Regions from separate parts of the Homo sapiens genome. Here regions 1 and 2 are each linked to region 3. The links are contacts of gene promoters, found by promoter capture Hi-C in human tissues and cell types (Jung and others, 2019). All regions are on one chromosome and are shown on one strand. Each heading gives the region's core, a stretch centred on a gene start or on the middle of the fragment in contact. The rest is flanking DNA. Distances are from core to core; before and after follow the strand shown. Region 1 has its middle 40 kb from the start of MEIG1. Region 2 holds the start of LOC105376431 (a long non-coding RNA gene). Region 3 holds the start of FAM171A1 (family with sequence similarity 171 member A1).

Region 1 (4,729 bases), core at 1,278-3,777, 370 kb after region 3:
CGGAGGTTGCAGTGAGCCAAGATCACTCCACTGGACTCCAGCCTGGGCAAGAGAAAGAGACTGCGTCTCAAAAAAAAAAAAAAAAAAAAAAAAACAAGAACAAAAACAAAAAAACCCCACAACTTTTTGAGAGTTTGGAGACCATCAAGTATGGTATGCAGGAGTTAGAGTCTGGCCATTAATTTTCAATACCGCCCTTTCTACTTATCTGTATGGCAAGGGGTGAGACGTCCATCTTCTGAGACTCAGCACTCTCATCTGAGTTGATTTCTAGTTGATCCAATGGAAGTGAGCGACGATGAAACCGATCGTGGGTGCCCGCTGCGTGATCTCTGTGTGATGGATGCGTAAAGTCAAGGCAAAGTGAATTTTAGATACATTCGTTAATATTTTCAGCTTAAACTCCATACGGTTCAACGGAAATATCCCCTGACCTGAAGTTCTGGTTTCCCTGCATTCCAGACAGGACATTTTCTTTTGTCCTTATCTCAGTAAGTCCTGAGTATTGTGAGAGGAACAAGTGAGTCTCTTTTGTTTCTGATTCCCCAGAGCCTATATCTCGCTTGGCACATAGGAGATAGCCAAAGTCAACATCTATGTGAATTATTGAATTGACACTTCCTTGGTTCACAAAAATTGGCTGTCATCAGTGTGACGTCAGTGTGACAGAGCGTGTACTTTTTTTAAATTGTTTTTCGAGACAGAGTTTTGCTCTTTTTGCCCAGGCTGGAGTGCAGTGGTGTGATCTGGGCTCACTGTAGCCTCTGCCTCCCAGGTTCAAGCCATTCTCCTGCCTCAGCCTCCCGAGAAGCTGGGACTACAGGCACGCACCGCCATGCTGGGCGAAGTTTTTGTATTTTCAGTAGAGGCGGGGTTTCACCATGTTGGCCCGGATGGTCTTGATCTCCTGACCTCGTGATCCGCCCTCCTCGGCCTCCCAAAGTGCTGGGATCACAGGCGTGAGCCACCGCGTCCGGCCAAACGTTCTGATGAAAACGCTAAGTCCACCAAAGCTAAGGACAGGAGTTACAGCTTCCATGAATTTTAAAACAAGACCCACAGATTTGAGGAAGCAATTCCTCTCTTGAAGGTGAAAAGTCAGAAAACAGAATGATGAAATCAATAGGATCCAACCGGCCTGTGGAACTATTCTCTGCTTATGAACTATCAACTTTAATTTCATTTCCAGATGGCATGGTCTCAGCAGTTATACGGTGTTTACAGATGTTCTAAATCAAGGGAATTTGTATCAGTCTATTCGAATAAAATAAAATATTTGAGTTCTTAATTTCCTTTAATTAGGATAACCTTTTTCTTAAAGTGAAGAGAATGGTTTGATTACATAGTTTCCGTCGGTAAAGATAGGCTGTATTTTCTAGCAATGACGAATTTGTTATATAGGATGATCTCGTTCTTGGAACATTCTTGAATCTAGTGTCTCTGAGGCAGGTGTGTACAACAAGAAGTGAATCACACAGAAATCAATGATGAAAGCATTAGAAGACAATTGAGATTGTCAGAAGTGCAAACTATTGCTGAGTGTGGATTGCTCTGAAATCTGAAAACATGACTTGTGAATTGCTTCTATCCAAAATGCAGACACGATGCTGGGTGTCGGTTTACTTGTTTCCGATTTCTCAACCCTCTTTTCTAGGCAAAAGTTGTCCAATCTCTACAGACCCACAGAATCTAACAGATGTCTCTATATTCCTCCTCCTAGAAGCTCAGAGGATCCAGAATGGCAGCCGGTCCTCACTGGGCTGTGCCTGTCCATGTGCCTGGTCACGGTGCTGGGGAACCTGCTCATCATCCTGGCCGTCAGCCCTGACTCCCACCTCCACATCCCCATGTACTTCTTCCTCTCCAACCTGTCCCTGCCTGACATCGGTTTCACCTCCACCACGGTCCCCAAGATGATTGTGGACATCCAGTCTCACAGCAGAGTCATCTCCTACGCAGGCTGCCTGACTCAGATGTCTCTCTTTGCCATTTTTGGAGGCATGGAAGAGAGACATGCTCCTGAGTGTGATAGCCTATGAGCGGTTTGTAGCCATCTGTCACCCTCTATATCATTCAGCCATCATGAACCCATGTTTCTGTGGCTTTCTAGTTTTGTTGTCTTTTTTTTTTCTCAGTCTTTTAGACGCCCAGCTGCACAACTTGATTGCCTTACAAAGGACCTGCTTCAAGGATGTGGAAATTCCTAATTTCTTCTGTGACCCTTCTCAACTCCCCATCTTGCATATTGTGGCACCTTCACCAATAACATAATCATGTATTTCCCTGCCGCCATATTTGGTTTTCTTCCCATCTCGGGGACCCTTTTCTCTTACAATAAAATTGTTTTCTCCATTCTAAGGGTTTCATCATCAGGTGGGAAGTATAAGGCCTTCTCCACCTGTGGGTCTCACCTGTCAGTTGTTTGCTGATTTTATGGAACAGGCATTGGAGGCTACCTCGGTTCAGATGTGTCATCTTCCCCGAGAAAGGCTGCAGTGGCCTCAGTGATGTACACGGTGGTCATCCCCATGCCGAACCCCTTCATCTACAGCCTGAGAAACAGGGATATGAAAAGTGTCCTGCAGCGGCCACATGGCAGCACGATCTCATCTCAATATCTTCTTATTTGTTCCATTCCTTTTGTAGTGTGGGTTAAAAAAGGCAGCAAGGTCAAATAAGAATGAAGTCACAGGGTGAACACCCACTGTGATATTAGGAGTAATACCTCCCTAGGATATAGAATATACTGTCACAGAGTATACACACATGGGGTACACCCACTGTGATATTAGAAGCAATATCTCCCTAAAGTACGATGAAAAATATCACAGGGTGTGCACACTGTGTGATATGAGGAGTAATATTTACCCTGGATATTACGACTAACATCAAGGGTGTACACACCAGGGGTACACGCACTGTGATATCAGGAGTTGTATCTCCCTAGGATATTATGAATACTGTCACAGGGTATACACTATGTGTGTACATCCACTGTGATATTTGAAGTAATATCTCTCTATGAGATTATAAATAACATCAAAGCTTGTACAAGCCTGTGACTTATTAGGAGTAACATTCTTCTAGGGTATTGCAGATCACGCCACAACGTGTACACCTCCTGTGACGTTTTGTACACTCTTTGTGACATTAAAAGAAACATCCCCCTAGGATATTATGAATAATAAAACAGGAGGGGTACACACAAGGTGTACACCACCTGTGTCATCAGGAGTAACAATTCCCTAGGATATTACGAATAATATCACAGCAGGTGTACACACATGGTGTACACCCCATGTGACATTCGGAAGAGCATGCCCCTAGGATATTAGGAATAGTATCACTGGGGTTGAATACGCATTTTTAATGCGTAATGTCACCCCCGGTGACATTAAAAATAACATCCCCCTTGGATATTACGAATAATATGACAGGGAGTACACCCCATGTGACATGAGGAGTAACACCCCCAAAGGATATAACGAATAATATCAGAGGGTGTACATGCACTGTGACCTTAGTAGTAACATCTCTTTAGGATATTACAAATAGTATCACAGGGTGTACAGGCATTGTGACATTAGTAGTAACATCCCGCTGGGATGACGAGTCACATCACAGGGTGTACACCTCCGTGACAATAGTATCAACATTCCCCTAGAATACTATGAATAATATCAAAGGAGGTACAGCCCCTGTGATTTACGAGTAACATGTCTATAGAATGTTACAACTCATATCACTGTGTGACTCTGTGTACACCCCATGTGACTTTAGGAGTAACATCCCACAAAGCTATGATGAAAAATATCACAGGGTGAACACCCCCTGTGACCTGAGGAATAACATAGTTTTAGGATATTGTGAATGATTTGACAAGATGTACACACCCTGTGACGTTAGGAGCAACATCCGTCTAGGATGTTAGGAAGAATATCACACAGAACACACCTCCTGTGACATTAGGATATGACAAATAATATAACAAAGTGTACATGCATCGTGACATGAGTGCTAATATCCCTCTGGTACACTATGAGTAATATCACAGGGTGTACCTCCCTGTGATGTTAGGAGTAACATCCCCCTAGAATAGTAAGAATACTAACACGGGGTGTACACCACCTGTGACATGAGGAGTATCATCTCGCTAGAATATTACAAATAATGTCACAGGGTGTTATCGTCTGTGCCAATAGGAGTATAGACCCCTGGGAAATTATGAATACTATCACAGGCTGTACAGCCCTGTGACATTAGGAGTAATATCTTTCTAGAATATCACAAATAATATCACAATGTGTACACCCCATGTGTCATTAAAAGTCAAATTGCCCTAGGATATTATGAAATAGAACACAGGGAGTACACCCCGTGTGACATTAGAAGTAACATCCCCCGAGGATATAACGAATAAGATCAGAGAATGTACCCGCATTGGGACATCAGTAGTAACATCTCTTCAAGACAATATGAATAATATCAAAGGGTGTACACGCATTGAGAAATGAGTAGTGAACTCCCGCTAGGATATTAGGAATTTGATAACAGGATCTACACGCCCTGTGACATTAGCAGTAACGTTTTCCTAGATTACGAAGAATATGAAAGGGTGTACAGGACCTGTGAATTACGAGCAGCATTTCCATAGCATATTGCACGTAGCATCACTGTGTGAACACGCCGTGTGACGTTAGGGGTAACACCCCACAAAATTATAAAGAAT
Region 2 (4,780 bases), core at 423-2,922, 260 kb after region 3:
CACAGAGACGCCCCTGCTGGACCTCATGAGCGACGCGCTCATCCTGGCTAAATCGGTAAGCCACTCCTTCCTGTTCACGCCGTTTGGTTCTCCAAATGTCTGTGCCAAACTATAGAAGACATCTTACTGTGTTTTCTTCCACACAGGTGGAATTTATGCGAGACTTTAAAAAAACTATTGATCATCAGTCAAAGGAAGAATTTTGATAAGAGTTTCTTTTGAAACTTTAGAGGCTATTTTCATCATTAATTTTATGGCAGTTTAACAAAAAAGACAAAATGTACAAATTATAAATGTTTAATCCTTATATAAGAATATATAAGGCTGGGCATGGTGGCTCAGGCTTGTAATCCCAACACTTTGGGAGGCCGAGATGGGTGGATCACCTGAGGTTAGGAGTTTAAGACCAGCCTGGTTAATATGGTGAAACCTCGTCTCTACTAAAAATACAAAAGTTAGCCAGGCTTCGTGGTGTGTGCCTGTAATCCCAGCTACTCGGGAGGCTGAGGCAGGAGAATTGCTTGAACCTGGGAGGCAGAGGTTGCAATGGAGCTGAGATTGCACCACTGCACTCCAGCCTGGGTGACAGAAACTGTCTCAAAAAAAAAAAAAAAAAAAAAAAAAAAAAAAAAAATATATATATATATATATATATATATATATATATATATATATAAAGCCCATATCTTAGGAAGTAATATAAGGAAAATATTAATACATGAGTGAATATTTTTGTTGAGTGAATAACTAGCAGCAATTTTTTTATTCAACCAAATAGTCTCTGAATTTTAAAATTAAAGGAATGAAATTCAAAATTTAATTGTAGCCAGTCTACATGGTGAAACCCTGTCTCTACTAAAAATACAAAAATTAGCAGGGTGTGATAGCACACACCTGTAATCCCAGCTACTCGGGAGGCTGAGGCAAGAGGATTACTTGAACCTGGGAGTTGGCGGTTGCAGTGAGCCGAGATTGCACCATTGCATTCCAGCCTGGGCCACAGAGTGAGACCCTGTCTCAAATTAATTAATTAATTAAAATAAAATAAAATAAAAATCTCTTACCTGTGCCTTTGGATCCCCAAGTCAACATCATCCTCAGATTGTCTGCTTTTTTTCAACACTTCCCAAATATGGCCAGTAATTAGTTATTTAAGGTAAAAACCCTGAGAAATAAAAATAAAAAGTGCTTCTTCTATATCACATTTTGCATAGTATTATTGTCTGACATTTTAAAGAAATTTAATTTTTTACCATTAAAATTTTACATAAATATATTTCCCATTATCAGCCCAAAGCAAACATACTATTTTTTTATACTTTTTTTTTTTTTTTTTTTTTTGAGATGAGTCTTGCTGTGTTACCCAGGCTGGAGTGCAGTGGCACAGTCTCGGCTCACTGCAACCTCTGCTTCCCATGTTCAAGTGATTCTCTTGTCTCAGCCTCCAGAGTAGCTGGGACTATAGGTGTGTGCCACCACACCTGGCTAATTTTTGTATTTTTAGTAGAGACAGGGTTTCATCATATTGACCCGGCTGGTCTCGAACTCCTGACCTCAGGTGATCCACCTGCTGCGGCCTCCCAAAGTGCGGGGATTACAGGCGTGAGCCACCACGCCCGGCCTGCATACTATTTAAAGTCTTTACAACTTTGGTCCCTGGGCAATAGCTTCAGCCAAGGTAGGACTTAGAAAGGCTAATAATTAATAATCCTGGAGATGAAACCATCTTGACAACTGTTCCCTTCTAAAACAAGAACGAGGCTGGGTGCAGTGGCTCATGCCTGTAATCCCAGCACTTTGGAAGGCCAAGGCAGGTGGATCACTTGAGGTCGGAGTTCAAGACCAGCCTGGCCAACACGGTGAAACCCGGTCTCTACTAAAAATACAAAGAAATTAGCTGGGCATGGAGGTGCACACCTGTAATGCCAGCTACTAGGAAGTTTGAGGCAGGAGAATTGCTTAAATCTGGGAGGTGGAGGTTGCAGTGAGCCGACATCATGCCACTGTATTCCAGCCTGGATGACAGAGTGAGACTCCATCTCAAAAAAATTTAAAAATAAATAAATAAAACATAAATAAAATATTTTCTGAAATCTTCATAAGTAATTTTATGCCAGTGACAGCCATCATACTACATTTTTAACATTTTTGGGATTCAGCGTTTCTGAATTTTCATGCTGACTTCATTGGATTCACTATAGTTTGTTTGTTTTTTGAGACAGGCGCTCACTCTGTTGCTCAGGTTTAAGTGCACTGGCACAATCACAGCTCACTGCAGCCTCGACCTCTTCGGCTTATGCAATCCTGCCTCAGCCTCCTGTGTAGCTGGGTCCACAGGCACACACCACCATGCCGAGTCAATCTTTTTATTTTTGTAGAGACAATGTCCTGTACCTACACCTACACCTATACCTACAGCCTATGCCCAGGCTGGTTTCAAATTCCTGGGCTCCAGTGAGCCTCCCACCTTGGCCTCCCAAAGTGCTGGGATTACAGGCGTGAGCCACCACATCCAGCCACACTGCTAGTTTTATAAGACAATTTTCAACTGAATTCTTCCTCTTTTTAAAGAAAGAAAAAAAAAAAGTCTCACTCTGTCGCTCAGGCTGGAGTGCCGTGGCACAATCTCGGCTCACTGCCACCTCTACCTCCCAGGCTCAAGCAGTTCTCCTGCCTCAGCCTCCTGAGTAGCTGGGACTGCAGGTGTGCGCCACCACATCTGGCTTATTTTTGTTATTTTTAGTAGAGATGGGGTTTCGCCATGTTGGTCAGGCTGGTCTCGAACTCCTGACCTCAAGTGATCCACCCACCTCAGCCTACCAAAGTGCTGGGATTATAGGCATGAGCCACAGCATCCGGCCCTGAATTCTTAACCTATGCTATATATCACGGACGTTAAATCCTATTAGAAATGCATATTCGAGCTATTAGTAGAATTGTTAAACTGAGATATGTAATACAGAAAACACTAGTCCTTTGTTTTAAATTTTAAATCTTTTTTAAATTGGCAGAAAGGATTTGATGTATTCAATGCACTGGATTTGATGGAAAATAAGACATTCTTGGAAAAACTCAAGTTTGGTATAGGAGATGGCAATTTGCAGTATTACCTGTACAATTGGAGGTGTCCAGGTACAGATTCTGAAAAGGTAAGTGAAATGGATATAGCCCTTGTAAACTCAACAAATGTACCTAGACAATTTCATACTTGCTTCACTTAGACTTAAGACAGCTTTATTTTATTTTTGTTCATTTTATTTATTTATTTATTTATTTTTTTGAGATGAAGTCTCGCTCTGTCCCCCAGGCTGGAGTGCAATGGCATGATCTCAGCTCACTGCAACCTCCGCCTCCCAGGTTCAAGTGATTCTCCTGCCTCAGCCTCCCGAGTAGCTGGGATTACATCCACCACCATGCCTGGCTAATTTTTTCATTTTTAGTAGAGATGGGGTTTGACCATGTTGGCCAGGCTGGTCTCAAACTCCTGACCTCAGGTGATCCGCCTGCCTTGGCCTCCCAAAGTGCCGGGATTACAGGTGTGAGCTGAGCCTTAAGACAGCTTTTAGAAAGACAGATCTATTGTACTACATTGCAATCTAATTTTTCTTACTATTCCATTTCTTCCCTCCCTTCAGGTTGGACTAGTACTACAATAGATGGATATTTTTATTTCTAGAACTCTGACATCATCATTTGTTAATATTTAATGATTTCTGGAACTGCCATTCCAAAGAAGAATAAAAGCACAACTCAAGTGAAATTGAAGTAGTCGATAATCAGAAAAGATGACAAAAGTCCACATGTGACATTTGTACGTTTCTAGCTAGAATGTTAAACTTCATCCTTTTTTTACTGTTGACCTATTTGTGGGAGGGATGAAAGGCTACAAAGAGCACATTCTTGTAATTTTCAAATTTTTGCCTGTCTCTTGAAGAGGTATTTTTTCACCCTTAGAAAAGGGACTGTTTTTCTATGGACTAAGTAGAAGTTACAGAGTCATGTAAGAAAATCTTTGCTATTGTGTGGAGAGAAATTGCTGCATTTCTGTTTCTTAAGTGATGGTACATTTGTCCATGTAACAGAACAAAAGATCCATTTGGAAATTTTTTTTACTGGTATCACCTTACATGGTATCACTGGGAACATTTATGGAATCAACACTTCTGTAGCTCAGTGACAGGTGGTGGTTGTTTAAGTGCAGAGCAATATTAAAATGTACTGGTGACTAGTACATGTATTTCTCCATAAGCAGAGTTGCCGAATCAATAAACATGCAAGTTTGTACTTTGATCTTTACCAGGTCAGTGGATTGCTTCAAAAGCAGAGTTTTGTGCAAGCACTCACTGTGCTCTCTGAAAGAGCCTGAGGCCGGGCGTGGTGGCTCACGCCTGTAATCCCAGCACTTTGGGAGGCCAAGGTGGGCAGATCATGAGGTCAGGAGATCGAGACCATTCTGGCCAACATAGTGAAACCCCATCTCTACTAAAAATACAAAAATTAGCCGGGCGTGGTGGCGTGTGCCTGTAGTCCCAGCTGCTTGGGAGGCTGAGGCAGGAGAATCGCTTGAACCTGAGAGGTGAGGTTGCAGTGAGCCGAGATCGAGCCACTGCACTCCAGCCTGGGTGACAGAGCGTGAGACTCCGTCTCAAAAAAAAAAAAAAAGAAAGAGCCTGTACCCGCGACTAACTAGACTTTTCTGCTGTTGTGCAAAGTTCAGTTTCTTCTCAGCAACATCAAGGATATATGAAGAAAAGGAAATAAAAAACTGTAAAGTCAAAAG
Region 3 (5,001 bases), core at 1,326-3,825:
ATTCAGTTTATTAAGATTTCTTCCACCCTGAAACATTCTGGAACTCTATACTAAGATCACAAACACCAGTGTTTTGAGTGAACAATAAGACTTAGAAAAATGGCATAGAATGGGATTTTTTTTCTATTTTAAATATTTCCATCTGAAATAATTATAGACTCATAAAAAGTTACAAAAATAGTACAGAGAGGTCACATCTATCCTTCTCCCAGCTTCCCCCAATTGTAACATCTTATATAACTGTAGTACACTGTCAATGCCAGGAAATGAACATTGGCACCATAGTATTCACTAGATTTGCACTTCACTGGGATTAGAGCAGGTTCAAACAATTTGGACACTCCTGGAGGTAATTTGAATCATTTGCATAAAATTTATTCTCAGAAGTAACATGGTATAGGGAATTTACACTTATCAGATCTTTGTATTGTGGGCAAGTTGTTTAATGGCACCAAGCCTCGGTTTGTTCATCTGTGAAATGGAAACAATGATACCTACCAAATAAGTTGTTATGAGGAAATAGCTCCAGTTCAGTGAGTGCCATATATTAGGAACTTTGATGCCATATATTAGGCTTAGATGCAGGAATCAGAAGAAGGAGGGAATCCAGCAGTCCCTATTTCTTTCTGCCTTCCTGACTACCTGCCACCCTGTGCAGGTGCGTGATTTGCGCAAATTGCAGCATTGGTCCTAAGGGTGACTATAAAACCCATATGGGCTTCTGTACGTCCTAGTTTTTCTCATGTCTCACAGTCATTTGTCTTTTATAAGCCAACTGGGCAAGTGCCATCCTTCATTCTTTTTTTGGTACGGTGCCTGCCATGTCTAAATGCTCAATTAATGAAATTACAGTAATAACCCTCCTTCTGGCCTGGTGTTCTGGAAGCAGTGTGGGGTGGATGATGGGTCTGGAGTGGATTTTCCTAGGTCCCCAGTGGAAGTCGGAAGGTCACCGCAGTGCTAGTTGGAAGAGAAGGTGGAGAGGGACAAGTGGAGGTGAAGGTTGTGTGGAAGGCATACCGACAGGAGTGGGTTGAGAGAAAGAAAAGTTGAGGTTGGAATGGAGGGGGTCCCTAGGCTCAAGGAAAGTCTAGAGGTTTGGTTTTGTTTTGTGTGTGGTTTTTTTGGTGGTTTTATTTTTTGATTTTTTTTTTTTTTTTTTTTTGAGACGGGGTCTCAGTCTGTCATCCAGGCTGGAGTGCAGTGGCACGATCTTGGCTCACTGCAACCTCCCCACTCCCAGGTTCAAGCGATCCTCCCACCTCAGCCTCCTGAGTAGTTGGGACCACAGGCATGGGCCACTATGCCTGGTTAATTTTTTTGTATTTTTGGTAGAGACAGGGTTTCACCATGTTGGCCCAGCTGGTCTCTTAACTCCTGAACTCAGGCCATCCACCTACCTCAGCCTCCCAAAGTGTTGGGATTATAGGCATGAACCATCACACCCAGCCAAGTCTGGAGGTTTTTGTGAAGAGTTTCAATTTTGGGGTCAGACTGACTGTTTTATTAGAATTTTGGCTCTGCCACTGACCAGGTATGCACTTTTGGACAAATTCCTTAACCCTCTTTAGCCTCTTTTCTCATCTGTGAATGGGGGGGATAATGCTAACTACCTCTTAGATCATGTATTGTGAAGATGGACAAAGAGTCTCTGCTTGACCGAACTACAGTCAGGCTCCGGAACCTTCTTCTAGGCTCAGTTGTGCCCTTCCTTGTAAAATCTGCTTTCAGGAAGAACCCTGCTAAGTCAGTTTACCAAGAACCCTCCACCCTGGATATCTGATCAGCTTCCCCATCCGCCCTGTCCTGCCCAGCCCTGCCAGGGGATGTCTGACTTTCAAGAATCCCCCTTCCCCCTGATGTTTCCTCTTATAATTTTTCATTCCCTGCATCCCACCCTGGTCCTCGGTTATAAATCCCCACTTGTTCCTGCTGTATTCAGAGTTGAACCCAACCTTTCTCCCCGACTGCAGAATCCCATGGTAGGGCTTATACCTATTGCGATGGTTCCAAAGAGGGTCTTCTTTGCTGTGCTTTCACACGTGTCATGGAATAGTCTTTTTTCTTTAATAGGACAGAAAGTTTTAAAGCACCTAGGGCCTCAAAAGATGTGGATTTCCTCCCCACCCTAACCCCTAGAACCATCCAAGTACCATTCCTCCTGAAGCTGTCCACCCGCCAACACGTAGGTACTGCAGGCCTACTGCAGTCTATACTGGCTTGGGGAGTGTTTTTGCGGATCTTTAACACTGGGTGTGAAATCTACGTTGGGGGACACAACTACATTAGGATGGCACCTGGTGGGGGGGTCACACCCAGATACAATGTCTCCTGCGGCCCCTTGGGTGACCTGGTGTGATGAAAAGGGCTCCGCCCTGAAAGGCAGGTCTGGCTCTTCTGCGGGGCTGCGGGGATGGGGCGCGCCGGGGCAGTGTCGCCGGGGGTCGGGCTGGGGGCGCGACGCAGCGGCGCCGGGCGGGGGCGCCCTCGGCGCCGCAGCCGCCAGGTGGCACCACGGGCCCGGGGCCTGGGCGCGGGCAGCGGCGGCGGCGGCGGGCGAGGCAGGAAGGGGTTAAGGAGCTGGCGGAGCAGCAGCAGCCGCCGCCGCCGCCGCCGCCGCGGCTCTTCGGGGAAACCCGGCGCGGGGCGCGGGAGGGAGCGGCCGGGGCGGCGGGGCCGGGCCAATCGGGCGGCGGGCCCGGCGCGCGGAGCCAGCGACATGGAGGGGGGCGCGGCGCCCGGCCGCCCGTGACGCGCCGCCGCCCGGCCCGCTCTCGGCGAGCCCGAGCCGCCGCCGGCCCCGCGGCGGAGATGAGCAGGTCCGCGACGCTGCTGCTGTGCCTGCTGGGCTGCCACGTCTGGAAGGCGGTGACCAAGACGCTGCGGGAGCCCGGCGCCGGAGCCCAAGGTCAGTGGGCGGCGGCGGGGCCGGGGGCTTTGTGTCGCGCCGGGCCTGGCGCGGAGGCGGCGGCGGCGGCGGCGGCGGCGGGAGGGTCCCGGGCCGCGTGGTGGCGACGCAGCCCGAGCCGCATCGGGAGCCTCCGGGCCTGCAGCACCCGCAACGCGCTCCCGAGGGGGCGGCGCGGGCCGGCGACGCGGGGTGACCCGGGCGGAGGCTTCGGGGGCCGGGGATCGGGGGCTGGGTCGGGCGGGGGCGCGGGCAGCTCCAGCTGCTGTCGCCGCTGCGGCGGGGGCTCGTCTGGATGCGCCCGGGGGTCCCCTTTATGCCGCGCCTCGGACACGCGGCTCTGTCTCCCATGTCGCCGCGGACAGAGGGGCCGCCCAGGGCGCGCCGCCCGATCGCGCTCCCGGCTCCCCACGCCGGGCTCGGGTCTGGGAAGTCCCAGCTCCTGGGCTGCGCTGGGGCCTTTTGTTGTGGCGGGAGGGGGTGGCTGACGCCCCGGGGTGCCCCCTGTGTCCCGGGGCCCCGAGGTCCGCTGCCGCCACTAGCCACTAGCCTGCCGCAGTTTGGGAAAGTTTGGGGGGTTCTCTCCCCCTGCCTATCTGACGTCTCTTCCAGACCATAAGGGATTTGCTCAGCGGCCCATGAGTCTTCTCTGTAAGGGAAGAAAGAATTGAACTGGGAGGCCCTCATCGCTCACCAAAAAAAAAAAAAAAAAAAAGAAAAATCCTTTCCAGATCAGTTTGTCGCCAGCTCGTGCCTTTTGTCTCGTCTTTGGCCTCCACAAATCTGCTTTCCAGCCCTGGGAGTAACGTGGTCGCCTCTGAGAATGGCCACGAGCCTGTCTTTTGTTTTTAAAATCAGCGTTTTTTGAGGGGAGTCCCCCACACCCACCCTGAGGCTTGCTTGGCACATTTTTGTGGGGACAGCGTCGAGGACTCCTCTGTTGCTGGCGTTTTCAAAAGGGCCACTGAGGCCCGCAGATGAGCCTCTGCATTCACCCAGGGCACCGCTGCCTGGACTCTTGCCGGGGGCTCAGGTCTCTGCGAGGGAGCTCCCTGCAGCCCTGCAGAACCCCGGGATTCCGAGCCCGAGGCCTGTCCCCTCAGAAGGGTGTGTGTCCTGCAAAGTTGGCCCTGCAGGCCAAAGAAACGAGGAGTGCTGCATCCGAGGGTCTCCTTGCTGGAACCCCCTTTCCTCGGCTAACATGCTCAGGGTGCCTGGGAGCAGAGACGCCCGGGCTTCCACCACGATGTTGCTACGGGGAGGAAAGGCTCTGCCAACACTCTGTTGGGTTGAGTTTGTTGCCTACATGTTGAGTTGAAGGTTTTCATATTCTGGCACTTGCAGTATCATTTCCTGGTATATCTTAAATGCATTGCTGCTTCTATGGCCATGGTAGAATATGACCGTTATGAATTGTGTATAATTTTAGTAATGCATATCATGGAAGAGCGGACAGCTACAAAATACAAAAAGACCTATATGTCTCTTCGTGTAGGAAACGAATGTTTAGGACATTAGATCATCAGTGTTGCATTGCAGCTTCTTTTATTAATACCCTACTGCTTTTTTGAATCAGCTATTTTAGAGAATGATATTTGCACTTCAGCGAGGCCGTTAATTTTAAAGAGCAAGTTGAATTTTTCCTTTTGCACTTGAAATACCAATATATGGAAATATTAAATTCATGCACTTCTGAATTAGAGAAAGGAAGGCATGTCTTCAATATATATATATATATATATTCAATATATATATAACAGGTTTAGGTCTAAGACCACGTTTTACCCAGCTCTTGCTGCTAAAAATCCGCCTCTCAGGAATGGAATATTATGCGAAATGGGAGGGAAATGGTCAACATGAGAAGAGGTTTCTGCCATGGCTAGCAGTGGCTTAGTTTAGGGTATGGTTGGAGTGGGAGATCAAGTATCTTGGCATAGTTTACCCCTTGGATTACTTCCTTTGTTGTTATCTACTGTAAGGATGGCTTTTTAAAGCCTTGAGCCCAGGAACTCTTTCAGAAATCAGGTCTCACTACCTGGCATTTGGATTTTGAGCTAGCAGCATTTTTAAGGGAATGGACAATTTCTCCTTTG

The links. Contacts are between HindIII fragments. The study calls those that stand out against the background at their distance.
Region 1: a contact is called between a fragment that was not itself captured here and the fragment with the promoter of FAM171A1 in region 3, in 1 of the 25 tissues and cell types used here (liver).
Region 2: a fragment that was not itself captured here is called in contact with the fragment with the promoter of FAM171A1 in region 3 in 1 of the 25 tissues and cell types used here (bladder).

Annotation. Positions count from the first base shown.
Region 1 is chr10:14,996,998-15,001,726 of GRCh38, reverse strand. It overlaps the pseudogene OR7E26P. Among named protein-coding and RNA genes, the nearest start is that of MEIG1, 40 kb to the right of the region's middle. The HindIII fragment of the contact is 6,058 bases long and covers 1-4,729 here.
Region 2 is chr10:15,108,071-15,112,850 of GRCh38, reverse strand. It overlaps NMT2 (N-myristoyltransferase 2), which reads left to right. Exons shown (of 12, transcript NM_004808.3): 10 at 1-55; 11 at 3,012-3,149; 12 at 3,636-4,780. The coding sequence ends at 3,656. It overlaps LOC105376431 (a long non-coding RNA gene), which reads right to left and starts at 1,323. Exons shown (of 2, transcript XR_930693.4): 1 at 1,065-1,323. The HindIII fragment of the contact is 4,782 bases long and covers 1-4,063 here.
Region 3 is chr10:15,368,863-15,373,863 of GRCh38, reverse strand. It overlaps FAM171A1 (family with sequence similarity 171 member A1), which reads left to right and starts at 2,575. Exons shown (of 8, transcript NM_001010924.2): 1 at 2,575-2,908. The coding sequence starts at 2,812. RefSeq lists silencers at 2,529-2,578, 2,589-2,818. The HindIII fragment of the contact is 11,349 bases long and covers 1-5,001 here.